Linked DNA regions of Homo sapiens: region 2 is linked to region 1. Evidence: promoter capture Hi-C in 16 types of primary human blood cells and fetal thymus (Javierre and others, 2016). All regions are on one chromosome and are shown on one strand. Each heading gives the region's core, a stretch centred on a gene start or on the middle of the fragment in contact. The rest is flanking DNA. Distances are from core to core; before and after follow the strand shown.

Region 1 (7,222 bases), core at 2,744-5,243:
AATTATTTATTATTTTGAACCGGTTGCTTCTCCTGCTCCAAAAGATAGATGGTCAAGACTCGGTAGCATACTTTCCAAGATGTGCTTACCTCAACTGCTCTCCTTAATGCGTCTTCAGTCTGGCTTTATGGTATCCCACACAGCAAAAATAACCAAGATGGTCACCTCATCTGTCTCCCCAGATTTCAAAAGAAAAAAATTATGCCAGTCACCCTGCCTATCAGTGGGGTCATCTGGATGTAGCAACCTCATTCTGGGACTCCACATCACACTGATCGCGCACTTCCCCACAAGTGCTCTGCAATCATCCACCCTGAGCAAGCGAGGGCTCTGCCTCTGGAGATCCATTAAAGTGTGTGGGGTCCACATATTTAATGGAACACACTACATACATGGTAGTGTAGAGAAACAACTTTATAACCTAGTCATTTTCAATAAGAAAAATCAGTGCTAGCCTTTGCATTTAAAAGTGTGGAAAAATTTAAATCTATTTTAACTCACTAAGGTAATTAATAGTAAAACTAAATAATTGGCCAGAAAGAGTTGTTTTTCAACTAGAGCCTTTTAAAACAAAAAAGATGTTTGAAACATTTCTTTTTCTCCTACCCAAATGTTGAAATACTGTACTAATGCTTCAGAGAGTAACTATATTAATGAAACATCAACAAGTTACAGATAAACATTTTAATTGATTAAATATATTACTTTCAAGATCTTTTTGAAATCGCACTTGTACTGTACTAATCAACAGCCAAAGGCAATAAGAAAGTTTAAAACCAAAAATATTCTGACATGAACACATGACAGGAACCGCTGCTATGTAAAGTAACATACACTGCTCCCAAGAACAATGATATTTTTAGGAGATAATTCATCTTAACATGTGCAAGGACAAATTTGTAATCAAAGGCTGGAAGAAATATATATTAGTGCCTGCTTTTTAAAAGTTTATTTTACATTTTAAATACAGTATTTTTCTCATAAAAAAAAAATCCAGGAAGTGCCTAACTCCATGGTTTCTATACCATATGTACATGAAAGCTGACAGAGAGCCTGACAAATGTTCTGGATGTAACAGTATGAACACCTATGAGCTGGGACTACTTCTGAATCAAAATTAAAAAACACAAATTAAGCACTGCTTAAGAAAAAAAAAATCCAGTTTCTGAACAACCAAAAGAGAACAGAGTTAGATATGTACAAAACCAGGTATTAAAAAACAGAAAGAAATACAGCACACAAAAAACTCAAACAACCCATATGTAGTGAACTGTATATACTGCAGTTAATGAAAACCCTCCTACAAGAAGTGATTTAGGATTTGAAATTTTAAAAATCTAAGTACTTCAGTAACAACATACAATAACAACATTAAGTGTATATTGCCATCTTTGTCATTTTCTATCTATACCACTCTCCCTTCTGAAAACAAGAATCACTAGCCAATCACTTATACAAATTTGAGGCAATTAATCCATATTTGTTTTCAGTAAGGAAAAAAAGATGTACCTCTTCCCGTCAATAAAGAAATAACACAAATTAAAGCTATAAAATTTAAGCATGGGCATATGTATTTCCAATTCTCCTTAATAAGTAATTCCAAACTGGAATAATGTGGGGTTTGTGACTAAGTAGTAACAAATTAAAAGAAAATAGACTGTCTCTGGCAGTGATTTCCATATTAGTGCAATGTTACTTCCCATATGCTGAATTATATTTAAATGATTTTATGTATTTTAATTCAGTAGGTGCCAATTTGAGTTTATAAAATCCTTAATTTTATTCTTTGTGCAGAAAAGTTTCAATTTGAGATACTCTATGAAGCCAAAACAAAACAAAACAAAACAAAAAACCTGTATTTTGCTACTAGTAGTATGAATACCAAATAAAGATACAAGGATTCAAAGTTTGTGGAAGTTCCTGAAGAAAAATCTCTGAGGTGTTCTACGTATCTTGATACTTCAATTATCAATTAGTTTTGAACATTCTAGTTTAAGATTATCTCAGAAAATAATTCTCTGTAATATAACTCTGAACTAAACAGCTGCACCCAAAGCAGAAACAATCTGGGTCATTCTGAACGAGATCAAACTGAGGCCATTTCTTTTTCTATTATAATCTGTGAGGTGTTGAGTTTTTAAGTTTTAAAAATGGCCTTTAATCAAAGCCAGCTGCACCTGATATAGACTTGTTAACTTATGGATTTCAAATTAGAGGACACTGTAACTACGGGCTCTCATAAGACACATGGAGCAGGCAGCAAGGGGCTAACCATCAGCCGGGTAAGGTCAACGTTGGGGTGTTTTATTTTGGAGACTTTAAATATTTAACATGTAGCTCATGTAACTTCAGCATCCACTAGTGACTCTGCTGGTCAGCACCCAAGGGCTGGATGAGTCTGAGGAATCTCCTTTAACCCCAAAGTATGAATGCTAAAGAGTCTCAAGGAAATTTTGATTCCCAGCAAGAGTTCACAAACCATCAGACCAATATCAATAAGGTAAACTGTGACTCTAATGCTCCACAAAAGTAAAAAGAAATTTCCAAATTAAATGTCATCTTCTGCCCAACCCTAGACTCCAGACTTTGTAACAACATTTTTATCTAGTATAATAGACTCTGTAGTAGACTGATTTTGACCGCCACAAAGAGTAGGAGTTGTCAAACTTGAGGAGATAGACTCCTCTCCCTGGATATTGATGGCTGCCAGCATACACCTCCTCATGACAGTCCCGTCGGTACACAGGCACAATCTCATCCAGCAAAGGCTTGTTGGCATTCTTTTTGGCTTTCTCTTCACAACCGATGTTTTCTGTAAGAACAGAGACAAGTCAATGAACAGATTCAGGAAAACCACACTTGCATCAGGCAATTAAAATCTATCCTTTCTTTTTTTTCTGGAGACAGAGTCTTGCTCTGTCACCCAGGATGGAGTGCAGCGGCGTGATCTCAGCTCATTGCAACCTCCACCTCCTGGGTGCAAGCGATTCTCCTGCCTCAGCTTCCCAAGTAGCTGGGATTACAGGCGTGCACCACTACATCCAGGTAATTTTTGTATTTTTAGTAGACATGGACTTTCACCATGTTGGCCAGGATTGTCTCAATCTCCTGACCTTGTGACCCACCTGCCTCGGCCTCCCAAAGTGCTGGGATTACAGGCGTGAGCCACCGTGCCCAGCCTATCCTTTCTTTGAGAAACTGCTCTTGTTGGGAATTCTGTTGAACCATTTAACAAGTTATGTGCATGTGAGCATTTATTAGTTCGTTCATTCATTCATTCATTCACTCATTCATTCAAATACCTAAGTATGTGCTATACACCAAACCCTGTTCTGAGCCCTGGGAGCCCAGTGATGAACATCTAGTGGTAGCAGTGGTCAGCATCCTATCTCTTTCTGTGCTTACTACCATTCCTATTTCAAGGTCCCATTTTCCCCTTTCCATAGCCATTCAATTCCTAATTCATCCTCAGGAATTTCACTCATCTGAGTAACATGAAAATGTTGCTCTCATCATCCTCCTTCTGACCAATATGAGTCCTCCCCATTTTAGAAAGATGGAAGATGATTTGTGAGGACTATTGCTTTCTGTATATCTTAAATATAAGCAGTAAAATGAAAAAATCATAGTAGAGAGATAGGCATTCAGAGATACTCTGAAAATTCAATTATTTTCACTAGGCCAATTTAACCCAGAGATGATCTAAGTGGCAAAAAATGGGCTCTGAAAGGTTTGCCCCGGTTAAGAGTTTTTTGAACTGTAATGCTATGAGGTTAGGAAAAAAAATGCCTCTAGAAACCTACAGGAATGAGAAAATTATGAACCAGCTTCGAAGTCACAGTTTAACATATTTAATACAAACCAGCTCAAAGAGGTCAAGGGAGTATTCAGCACAGAAGACAAGACTTTCGGGTTTATGGTTGTTGTTTTTGTTTGTTTGTTTGTTTAAGAGACTGGGACTACAGGCATGGATTTTCAGGTTTATAACATGGCAGAGTGAATTCTGGCAACACACTGAGTGATGCTTGTCAATGGCCACTATCAGGAATTTAAAACAAGGTAAGTTTGAGAAATTCTCACCGTCTATAGCAGATTAAGGAGATATGATGACTGACTATAATGTGGCATCCTGGAAAGGATCTTGGAACATTAGGTAAAAACTAAAAACATCTGAATAAATATGGACTTTAGTTAATTAATGAATCAATGTATCAATATTGTTTCATTAGCTGTGATGAGTGCACCACAGTACAATGTAAGATGCTAACAACAGAGGGAACTTGGTGCAGGGTATATGGGTACTCTTTGTGCTATCTTTGTAACTTTTCTGTAAATCTAAAACTATTCTAAAATTAAAAGTTTATTTTAAAAAAGCAGATGGCACTCTTATAAAGGTAGGTCAAAACCAGATTTACTTAACCACAGAAATACCTATAATTAAGCATGTTTCACATGCAAATGAGAAATACAGAACCATCCAAAATGTACACTATTGTTGACATCCAAGAAATAGACTGGTCCATTGATTCAAGACTCAAATTTTGTTTTAAATCTATAAAACTAAAGATTACTGGGATAGATGAAAAGGCATCTTTTATGAATTTAAGCCAAGGTTTAGGACCTGTAAACAATGAAGAAAATGGAGAATTAAAACAGGAGGATGTGTTACCATCCATGCTTCTTCAGAGAAAGCAAACTCCTCTGTCTACCTTTCAAGACCTAAGGAAGAAAAACCAAACCAAAACCCAAAAAACTCAGACTCTTCTACCATATGAAATACAAGACACGGTAGGACAGTAGCTTCTAAGGCATATGGACAAATACAATTTGTGAGCTAAATCTTTAAATGGGATGAAGTGACGCTCATGTAATGAACAATTCTTAGGAATGATAAAGCTTCACTGCTGTGAGGCTAAAATGTTTTAGCTGCAAATCATTTTATGATTAGGAATGGTACAAGTACAGGGAATGCCATCTTTCATTTGAGGGACATATTAGAACTAAGATCAAGGATATTAAGGTTCTTACCTCTAGAAATGAACCCCTGCCATTTTCACTAGTGATCTTCCCAACACCAATATAACCCCAAAACTATCATCAGCTGAGGGTTCAGACTAGGCAGTAACCACCTTTTAGAAGCTCTCTAATAGGCAAGCCAGGAGAAATACATTACCTCAACCAACTTCTGAACAGAGAATTCTTATTCACAAAGCTCTTTCATTTTTTTTTTTTTTTGAGACGGAGTCTGGCTCTGTCGCCCAGGCTGGAGTGCAATGGCACGATCTCAGCTCACTGCAATCTCCACCTCCCGGGTTCAAGCGATTCTCCTGCCTCAGTCTCCCAAGTAGCTGGGATTACAGGCATGTGCCACCATGCCTGGCTAATTTTTGTACTTTTAGTAGAGATGGGGTTTCACCATGTTGGCCAGGCTGGTCTTGAACTCCTGACCTCAGGTGATTCACCCACCTCAGGCTCCCAAAGTGCTGGGATTACAGGTGTCAGCCACTGCGCCCAGCCATCTTTTTTTTTTTTTTTTTTTTTTTTTTTTTGAGATGGGGTCTGGCTCTGTGGCCCAGGCTGGAGTGAAGTGACTTGATCTCAGCTCACTGCAACCTCTACCTCCTGGGCTCAAGCAATTTTCCCACCTCAGCCTCCCAAGTAGCTGGGACTACAGGTGCACACCATCACACCCAGCTAGTTTTTTGTATTTTTGGTAGAGACAGGGTTTCATCATGTTGCCCAGGCTGGTCTTGAACTCCTGAGCTCTAGCAATCCATCCGCTTTGGCCTCCCAAAGTGCTGAGATTACAGGCAGGGGCCACCGTGCCTGGCCTCACAAAGCTCTTTGTAAGTACAGTAATTTGTATGCATACAAAAAACTTTCCTTCCCAGACATCTGCAGACAGTCTGACTTTAATGAGTCCCTGTGATGCAACAGAAAGGACAGAACAGGTTCTGATGTTGTTGAAGGTCACATGAGAAAACAGTAGTGCCCCCTGGCTAATCTGCTACAGTCCTGCTCTCTAACTGCTTTTTATTTTTTTTAATTTTTTTTTTTTTTTTTTAGAGGGAGGGCCTAGCTCTGTCGCTCGGGCTGGAATGCAGTGGTGTGATCATATAGCTCACTACAGCCTCGAATTCCTGGACTCAAGCAATCCTCTTGCCTCAGCCTCCCATGTACCTGGGACTACAGGTACATGCCACCACACCCACCTAACTAAAAAAAAATTTTTTTTGTCGAGATGTGGTGTCACTCTACAAAACGGGTTGCCCAGACTGGTCTTAAACTTCTGGCCTCAAGAGATCTTCCTTACTTGGCCTCCCCAAAAGCTGAGATTACAGTCATGAGATACCATGCCCAGACAGGCTTTTTCTTTTTTTTATTTTTGAGACGGAGTCTCGCTCTGTTGCCCAGGCTGGAGTGCAGTGGTGTGATCTCGGCTCACTGCAACCTCTGCCTCCCAGGTTCAAGTGATTCTCCTGCCTCAGCCTCCCGAGTAGCTGGGATTACAGGCACCCACCACCACGCTCGGCTAATTTTTATATTTTTAGTAGAGACAGGGCTTCACCATGTTGGCCAGACTGGTCTCGAACTCCTGACCTTGTGATCCACCCACCTCGGCCTCCCAAAGTGTTGGGATTACAGGCGTGAGCCACCGCGTCCGGCCCAGGCTTTTTCAATCTTACATTTTTTCTTTCTGTCTCAGTCAGTATTATTTATGAGCAATGCTTTGCCTTGCTGGTGGTACTCAGGAATAAAGACTGATGAAAACAAAATGCCGTGTAAGACAAAGCAGCTCATGCTTCCATATTTACCAGCTAGAATCTGGACCTGTGGTATAATGAAGGATTTTAAATCTGCTTCTGGGGTAAAAGTCAATCTGCAAGATGTACTGAAATTTCTGGGATACTCTGATGGTTCATGTAGATAATGATACGGAATTATCTTTGGATTATCTTTTGATTAGCATTAAATATTAACTGTTAAATTGAATATTAAACTTAATTTCAAGAAATGTATGGCACACCTGCAGTGTATGTTTCTGTAGATAGCCCCAGAGGCCCCAGGGTGTTGCATGGTATGGTAATATGATTGGACAACTCTGTACTTCACAAGTTGATAGAACTTTCAGGCTTATTCCATGTACTTTCAATAATATCTTTTTAACTTTATCCCACTGTAATCTGTAAAGCAACATTGCCAACCCTCTTCAAGAACAAGC
Region 2 (7,222 bases), core at 1,815-4,314, 640 kb before region 1:
TAAAAAATGTACTTCACCTCTTCTGTGAATAAGGTATTTTAAATCACAATCTTATCACTTACTACTTTTTCCTGAGTACATAGGTATTAACTATAAGGCATATGAATCCAAACGTGGACAGTATCTTTTTCTTTTTTATAAAATTGAGATAACTGTACACATTTGTTTTGTTACCTAACACAGGCAACTGTTCACAATTTACTATTAAGCATACTAAATTATGATCCCTTGAAGCCTACAGAGCCTCTACTCCACCCACTATACATTTGTATACTTCCATAATATTTTCTTTAAATAAATTCCTGGAATTCATATCACAGAATTCAAGGTAAGACATTTATTTTTCAGGCTTTTGATTCTGTTTTTCCAAACTGCTTTTTAGAAAGCAGAAGTATAGAAGAGTGCCTGTTTCCTTGCACTCTTGCCAAAATCAGATTTGTTGGGTTCAATTTTGCCAAGACAGTCACTGAAAAGTAAAAGCCCATTGTTTTCTTTACAACTGCGTACCATGCACTTACATTTACACCTTATGCTGTTATCACTGAACCACAACCCCACCCTCCACTACCTCTGGACCTTCATGCAAACTCAATGAACCGGAAGTGTAGATTTGCAAAAATGCAGTACTACTAATGCCACTGTTTAATTTGTATAACAATAGCTCTATCGTCTTTCTAAGTACATTCAGGATCCATGTCAAAGATATGCATATGGGATATTTTTTAAAAAGAAACAAGTACAAATAAAGGAAAGCTGCCACTGAGCACCCACCTGCTTCAGCCTGTCATAGTCAAGTCCTTCCGTCTGGACTCCATTGGCACTGGGCTGTGATAAGGGTGTGGATTTTGGTCTGTATAAATGAGATTTCCAGGACAGGTAAACAACATTCTTAATACTTAATGAGTTCATAAATAATTGCAAATTTACCAACCCAACACCAGATTTAAATACATTTCTTTAAAAAAGCCATTTTCTTAAAAAATTATCAAAATTGTAGGGCTGATTAGAACATAAAACAACATTTTTTCACTTTTCTCAGTATTTCTTATTTATAAAGGAACTAGAAAAAGGTGACAAGATGGTGAGACTTCTTCAGAAAAGAGTAGAAGACAGTATTCTTTGGGCATGAGGTAACCAGGTAACGTGGCACGTTGACCAAAACAGTGATGAAGAGGCCAGCTGAAACATCTGAGGCTCAAATAACACAATCTTGTTTTGTCTTTCTTTTGAACTTTTACATTATCTACTTAAATACCTGGACAAACCAGTGAAAGGAGAAACATAAAGACTTGAATGTTTTACACTAACATAAATCAGCTTACAAAGCTGATGCCTTGGATTGCAGGAAGAAAACATTTTTAGTGAGCATGATTTGCTTTATACATATTATTCCATTTCAAGCATCAAAATAAAAAATGTTTTAAAAATGTTTATTAGATTAGACTATGTGACTATTTCCTTGTGAAATTTTTATGGAGACGTCATTTGAATGGTGTGTTTCAGGCTAACTACTTCCATAAATTTATTTTATTAAATAAAAAGGATATGCCAGACAGAAGCAGATTGTCAATTATTATTGCACTTTCAAAAGTTTAGTTTCTATTATAATTCTTAATAAGTCAATGATTAGGTATATTTTAAACAAGTTTCAACACCAAATAAACCAGTCATGGCGCCCTCTCCAAGTCCGGCAATAAAAGAGTCCCCAGTGGAAAACCTAGAGTTTTAAATGGGCACTCCTCCGGGTTCTGGTTTAGTCTAGTAAATGCCCTCCTTTATGAGCCACAAATAAATGCAATTTAAAACCATCAGGCAAATCATATATTCCCAATTTTGCAGAGTACCAATGTTAGCAATCTGAAGCAAGACCCAAAAGGCATAATAAATTTTTCAAAGTTATAATTTATAATTCTTATAAGACATAAAATACTTTAAACCCATAGGCATGGTTCCTGAAGATTAAACACTGAGTTAATCTGCTTTTTGTTGTTGTTGTTGCTGCTGTTTATGAGATGCAGTCTTGCTGTGTCTCCCAGGCTGGAGTGCAGTGGTGCGATCTTGGCTCACTGCAACCTCCGCCTCCCCGGTTCAAGTGATTTTCCTGCCTCAGCCTCTGGAGTAGCTGGGATTACAGGTGCACCACAATGCCTGGCTAATTTTTTTGTATTCTGAGTAGAGACGGGGTTTCACCATGTTAGCCAGGCTGGTCTCAAACTCCTGACTTCATGATTTGCCCACTTCAGCCTCCCAAATTGCTGGGTGTAGGTGTGAGCCACCACGCCCAGCCTGTTAATCTGCTTTACTATCAAAACGTATTACTGCTTAAAAGACTGTTAGGAAGCAAGTCGTCCAATTTTACTTTATTAGGTATCTGCTTATATGAATAGGGGGAAAAATAACTTCCAGAAAATTTCATTCAATAAGCACTGAGCTAGGCACTGTAGGGAATAATATTTATATGAAATATTTCCTTTCCTCTTGTGAGGCTACACCTTCTTACTTTGCTAGGGAAGACTACTAAATTCCAAGGTCACTTAAGATTTACTTAGATCCATAAAATGCAGAGTCACTTCTGGCAAATATTCTTAAAGTTTAGGATGTTATTTCATATATTCACTCATGCTACCTATTCCTGTTCTCTAGAATTAAACTATAATTCATACTCTGCTTTTCTTTTACATTTCCCATTTAAGTGGCCCATTTAGCTAGTTATTTTCTCAAGTTATATAATGAATACCTCTGAAATTCACATGAACTACAGCCTGCTATTTAATTGGGCAAGTATGTTATGAATATATCCATATTTACTAGGCAATGCAAAAATTATTGTTATGTAATAAACAATTGTGGAAACATGCAAATTTTTAAAAATTTAATTCATGCTAACATGCAATCCATCACCACCACCACCACCATGATAATTAACTAAAGGGGGGAACTTTTCATACTGAAGGAAAGATGTAATCACCACTTTTTTTCTTAACTTTTACCAAAAAAGTTTATCAATAACATTATCCCAGGGGGTACTATGTGTGAAAGCAGCAAGATAACTGAGCAGATTTACTACATTTAAAAAATATATGTATTTTTGGACACAGGGTCTCATTCTGTCACCCAGGCTGCAGTGTGCATGATCTCAGCTCACCGCAGCCTTGACCTCCTGGCCTCAAGTCTTCTTCCCACCTCAGCCTCCCACAGGCACATGCAACCATGCCCAGCTAATTTTTGTATGTTTTGTAGAGACAGGGTTTAACCACATTGCCTAGGCTAGTCTCAAACTCCTGGACTCAAGTGATCCTCCTGCCTCGGCCTCCCAAAGTGCTGGGATTATAGGCATGAGCCATGGCACCCAGCCTTAAAAATCTCATTGTTAAATGCTACTTTTCTATGTACTAGCAAATTTTCTAAAGAAATCTTTTGGCCAAAACAAACCACCTCAAAAAAAAAAAAAAAAAAAACACAAAACTATTTCACTACTGGAATATAAACATTTTGTGAAGATTTAACTGGCTGACAAAATTAACTTGTCAAGTATTTTGATCATTAATAGCATAAAAATAATTTTAGCAAGTAAGAATTTGGCCAGAGTCTGCTTACAGAACTCCCAACTCACTGCAATAGACATCCACTATGAACACCACTTAATTCATATTCCCAGTGAACTTGATGTATATTTTTTTAAAAAATAGATGTGTAAAATAACATAAATATATTTCAGTTATTTCTAACCTATGGGTTTTCATCATAATTGATCACAAAATGAGGGTTTCTCAGGTTTTTATTTCACTTTTTTTTTTTTTTCCTAAAAGAGGGTCTCACTCTGTCACCCAGGCTAGGGTGCAGTGGTGTTATCATGGCTCACTGCAGCCTCTAACTCCTATGCACAAGATATCCTCCTGTCTTAGCCTCCTGAGTAGCTGAGACTATAGGCACAAGCCACCAGGCCCAGCTAATTTTTTTTTATTTTTTGTAAAGATGGGGTCTCGCTATGTTTCCCAGGCTGGTCTTGAACTCCGGGCCCCAAATGATCCTCCAGCCTTGGCCTCCCAAGGTGCTGAAACTATAGGTGTGAACCACCAGGTGCTGGGTCAGTTTTTATTTTTTTATGATGAGAGCGTTGCCTTTAAACATCTGCCTATAAAATGACTGTACTACTATATTTAAGTCCCTATTCTGTCAAATTAATTGTGTAAGTAACTGAAAAGCATTGCAGGATTATTTTTAGCTGTCAATTTTTTTAATTAAGAAAAAACTAGTTCTTAAGTCTTCTTAATTAAAAAATGGTATAATAGGGCTCATCCTAGAAAACAATCTACTCAGGGTGTTAGATGTTAAACTGTCCAAGATAATTTACTACAAAGTATCTAGGAAACAGAGATTTTCCTCAAATAATCAATTATCCACAACCATGGCTTTAATATTAGTCCATGTTCCAGTAACAGATGGAAAAGGATCTTCTATTCAACTTTTTTGAAACCTTGTCTTATAATCATAAGGCGAACAGCCTTTAAAAGAAAACGCTTAAGCTACAAATGGCCTAGATAATACATGTGGCCTTAGATTCCCAGTCTAGTATTTCTAATATGTTTACCATTTGTATTTATCCTTGAATCCAACTGTGAAGTGATGGCAGAATTTTTAAAAGGTATTCAAAATAAAGAAAAAAAAATCTCCCTTGTGGTGATTACCAATCCAGGTAGAAAAAGCTCAGCCCTATCCTGAACATGTTATTTAAAAGTCTCAAATCACAACGTCACAGCAGGATGATACCTGTGTAATGAATCATAGGACCTGTTGTCAAAAACAATCTGATTTTTCCTTGGAGAATCCCGTCTATGAAGGGGAAAACCATTGAAAGGGATACACAATAGAACTTTAAAAAATAATTCTCATTATGTTACTGTTTTATAGGTTGTTAATAGCAAACAAAACAAGAATTGAGTCTATTAACCTTAAAATAACCAATTTTTCCCCAATAAAAGATATTTTAAGATTACTTTTAGTTATGTGAAGATACCAGTTACAGAAAATTTTAAAAATCATTACACAATGGCTACTTTTTATATAGGTTGTAGGCACAGTAAGTATATAAAAGTATACAAAATTAACTCTTCTCAGGAGGCATGTAAAGGACTAGTTTTCCCATCTTGAATACAAGATCTGTAAGGTCTTAATAACCACAGATGAATGCACCAACTTCCCAAACGTTATAATCCAGTCATAGTTTAAAGCATTTTTAACCAAACAGTCTTGCTTTTACTCTGACATATTCACTTAACAAATACAGCAATATGCAATATCTCATGCATATTATGGGACATTAATCCATCTTACCACTAACGTAATTTTGACAAAGCTATTCCAAAGAGAAATGGGGACCTTCACTACAATGCAAGGATAAGACATACTTAATACACTTGCTTTCCGAAGGAACAGGAGAGATAACTTAGGAAGAAAAGCAATATAGTTCTTACTCTTTTAAACATATTTTAAAAATCCTTTATGGTTTAAAACAGCTTTTGGTGAAATTTTAAAACCTATATATCAGTAGTTGGATCAAATCTATCAAAAGATATATGAGTGGTCAGGAAATAATCAGGAGTTCCAGAATTTCTATTTTGGGAAAGGGAAGGAAAACCACCTAACAGAATTGGAACATGATTATGGTGCACTACTGGATATTAAGAATCAAGATTCAACTCATCTATATAAAATTATTTTCAAAATGGTGACCTTTAGAGCACTTATTAAATTTCCAAGTCTGAAAAAAAAATCTTTTTTTCCCTACCCTGGAATTAGGAAAAATAAAAAAATCTTTCAAAGAACAACTTTTCCTTTACTAAATGGACCAAATACATCAAAGAATGTATTCCATTTGGAGAACCTCGTCCATGTCCCTTCTAAGACATGACTTCTGCCATCAACGTAGGCTTAGCTTTTAGTTCACTGTGAAATGCAGATCAATGAAGCATGATGAAGAGAAAGGACAAATGACACATGACAGGTCTGCAGACTGGAGTGCAATAGCGCGATATCAGCTCACTGCAACCTCCGTCTCCCAGGTTCAAGTGATTCTTGTGTCTCAGCCTCCCAAGTAGCTGGCATCGCAGGTGTGCGCCACCATGCCCAGCTAATTTTTGTATTTTTAGTAGAGATGGGGTTTCATCATGTTAGCCAAGCTGGTCTCAAATTCGTGACCTCAAGTGATCTACCCACCTTAGCCTCCCAAAGTGCTGGGATTACAGGCATGAGCCACCACGCCTAGCCAGCTCCTTGTTATGGGCTTAATAAATCAGCACTTCATAATGTGCTACTGAAGAAAATCCGTAACTAGTAGAGATGTGTTAGAAGGCCATCTCAGTTAGGAGTCTGAGAAACATAAATGTGCAATTTTTCTACTCTACTGAAAACACATGTCCACCAAAAGCAATTCCCCCTTTCTTCTAAAGTAAAATATGATCATCTTTCAATCACTTAGAAACTAAAAGCTTTTATACATTCCAAAAGGCCTAGTTTCTTTGTGGAGCTTAAACAATTGTGTCACTACCAAATCTTCTTTCCTACTAGCAGAAAGAACCACATAGGAAGCCAAATCCAAATTCAGACTTAGACTAACACAGAACAGGTCTGTGATAATATAAAGTCTATCCCTGTACTTATCTTTATTAGGTTTCTATAATTAGAGTCAAGTTGCTTTTTACGAGACAAAAATAAGGCAAATAGCTCAGAAAGAAAAGACAAAATACCTTTTAGTTTCTAAATACATACTTTTTTTTTTTCTGGGAAAAATACAAGTCCTTTAAACTGTCTCATAAACCAAGAAAAGGTTTCATCTATGTTCAGGAGCTGTGATATAAATTTAGTCATGAAAATAAAGTATGCCTAGCTAAAGGAAGAACAAATTTGCCTAAATATGCCCACATGTACTTGTAGAAACAAGTATTAACTAGCCTTGTTTCTGGATACTATCTTTTCTAACTTGATTACACTTACAAGTTTCAAATGAGATAGGGAAATACATGTTTCTACTTTACAAATTCAAAGATGTATGTTTTATTTTGCTCTCTTTTCTCTCCAGCTGATATTCAGGTTTAAAAAAGGCTCCAAAAATTATATATATACATAAATATATATACATAAAATCTATGTCATTGGAACTAATGGGGAAATGTGACTATATACTATAGTAGATAATATTATTGCTTAATGTTAAATTTCTTGA

What was found. Contacts are between HindIII fragments. The CHiCAGO score rates a contact against its expected background, and 5 or more counts as called.
Region 2: a contact is called between a fragment that was not itself captured here and the fragment with the promoter of ACBD3-AS1 in region 1, in 1 of 17 cell types (neutrophils). The highest score is 6.7, in neutrophils.

What each region holds. Positions count from the first base shown.
Region 1 is chr1:226,144,010-226,151,231 of GRCh38, forward strand. ACBD3-AS1 (ACBD3 antisense RNA 1) reads left to right here and starts at 3,994. Exons shown (of 2, transcript NR_146443.1): 1 at 3,994-4,059. It overlaps ACBD3 (acyl-CoA binding domain containing 3), which reads right to left. Exons shown (of 8, transcript NM_022735.4): 8 at 670-2,812. The coding sequence ends at 2,601. It also overlaps the pseudogene LOC124904586. The HindIII fragment of the contact is 12,330 bases long and covers 1-4,894 here.
Region 2 is chr1:225,500,221-225,507,442 of GRCh38, forward strand. It overlaps ENAH (ENAH actin regulator), which reads right to left. Exons shown (of 14, transcript NM_018212.6): 12 at 772-850. Among named protein-coding and RNA genes, the nearest start is that of LINC02765, 36 kb to the left of the region's middle. The HindIII fragment of the contact is 6,843 bases long and covers 1-6,486 here.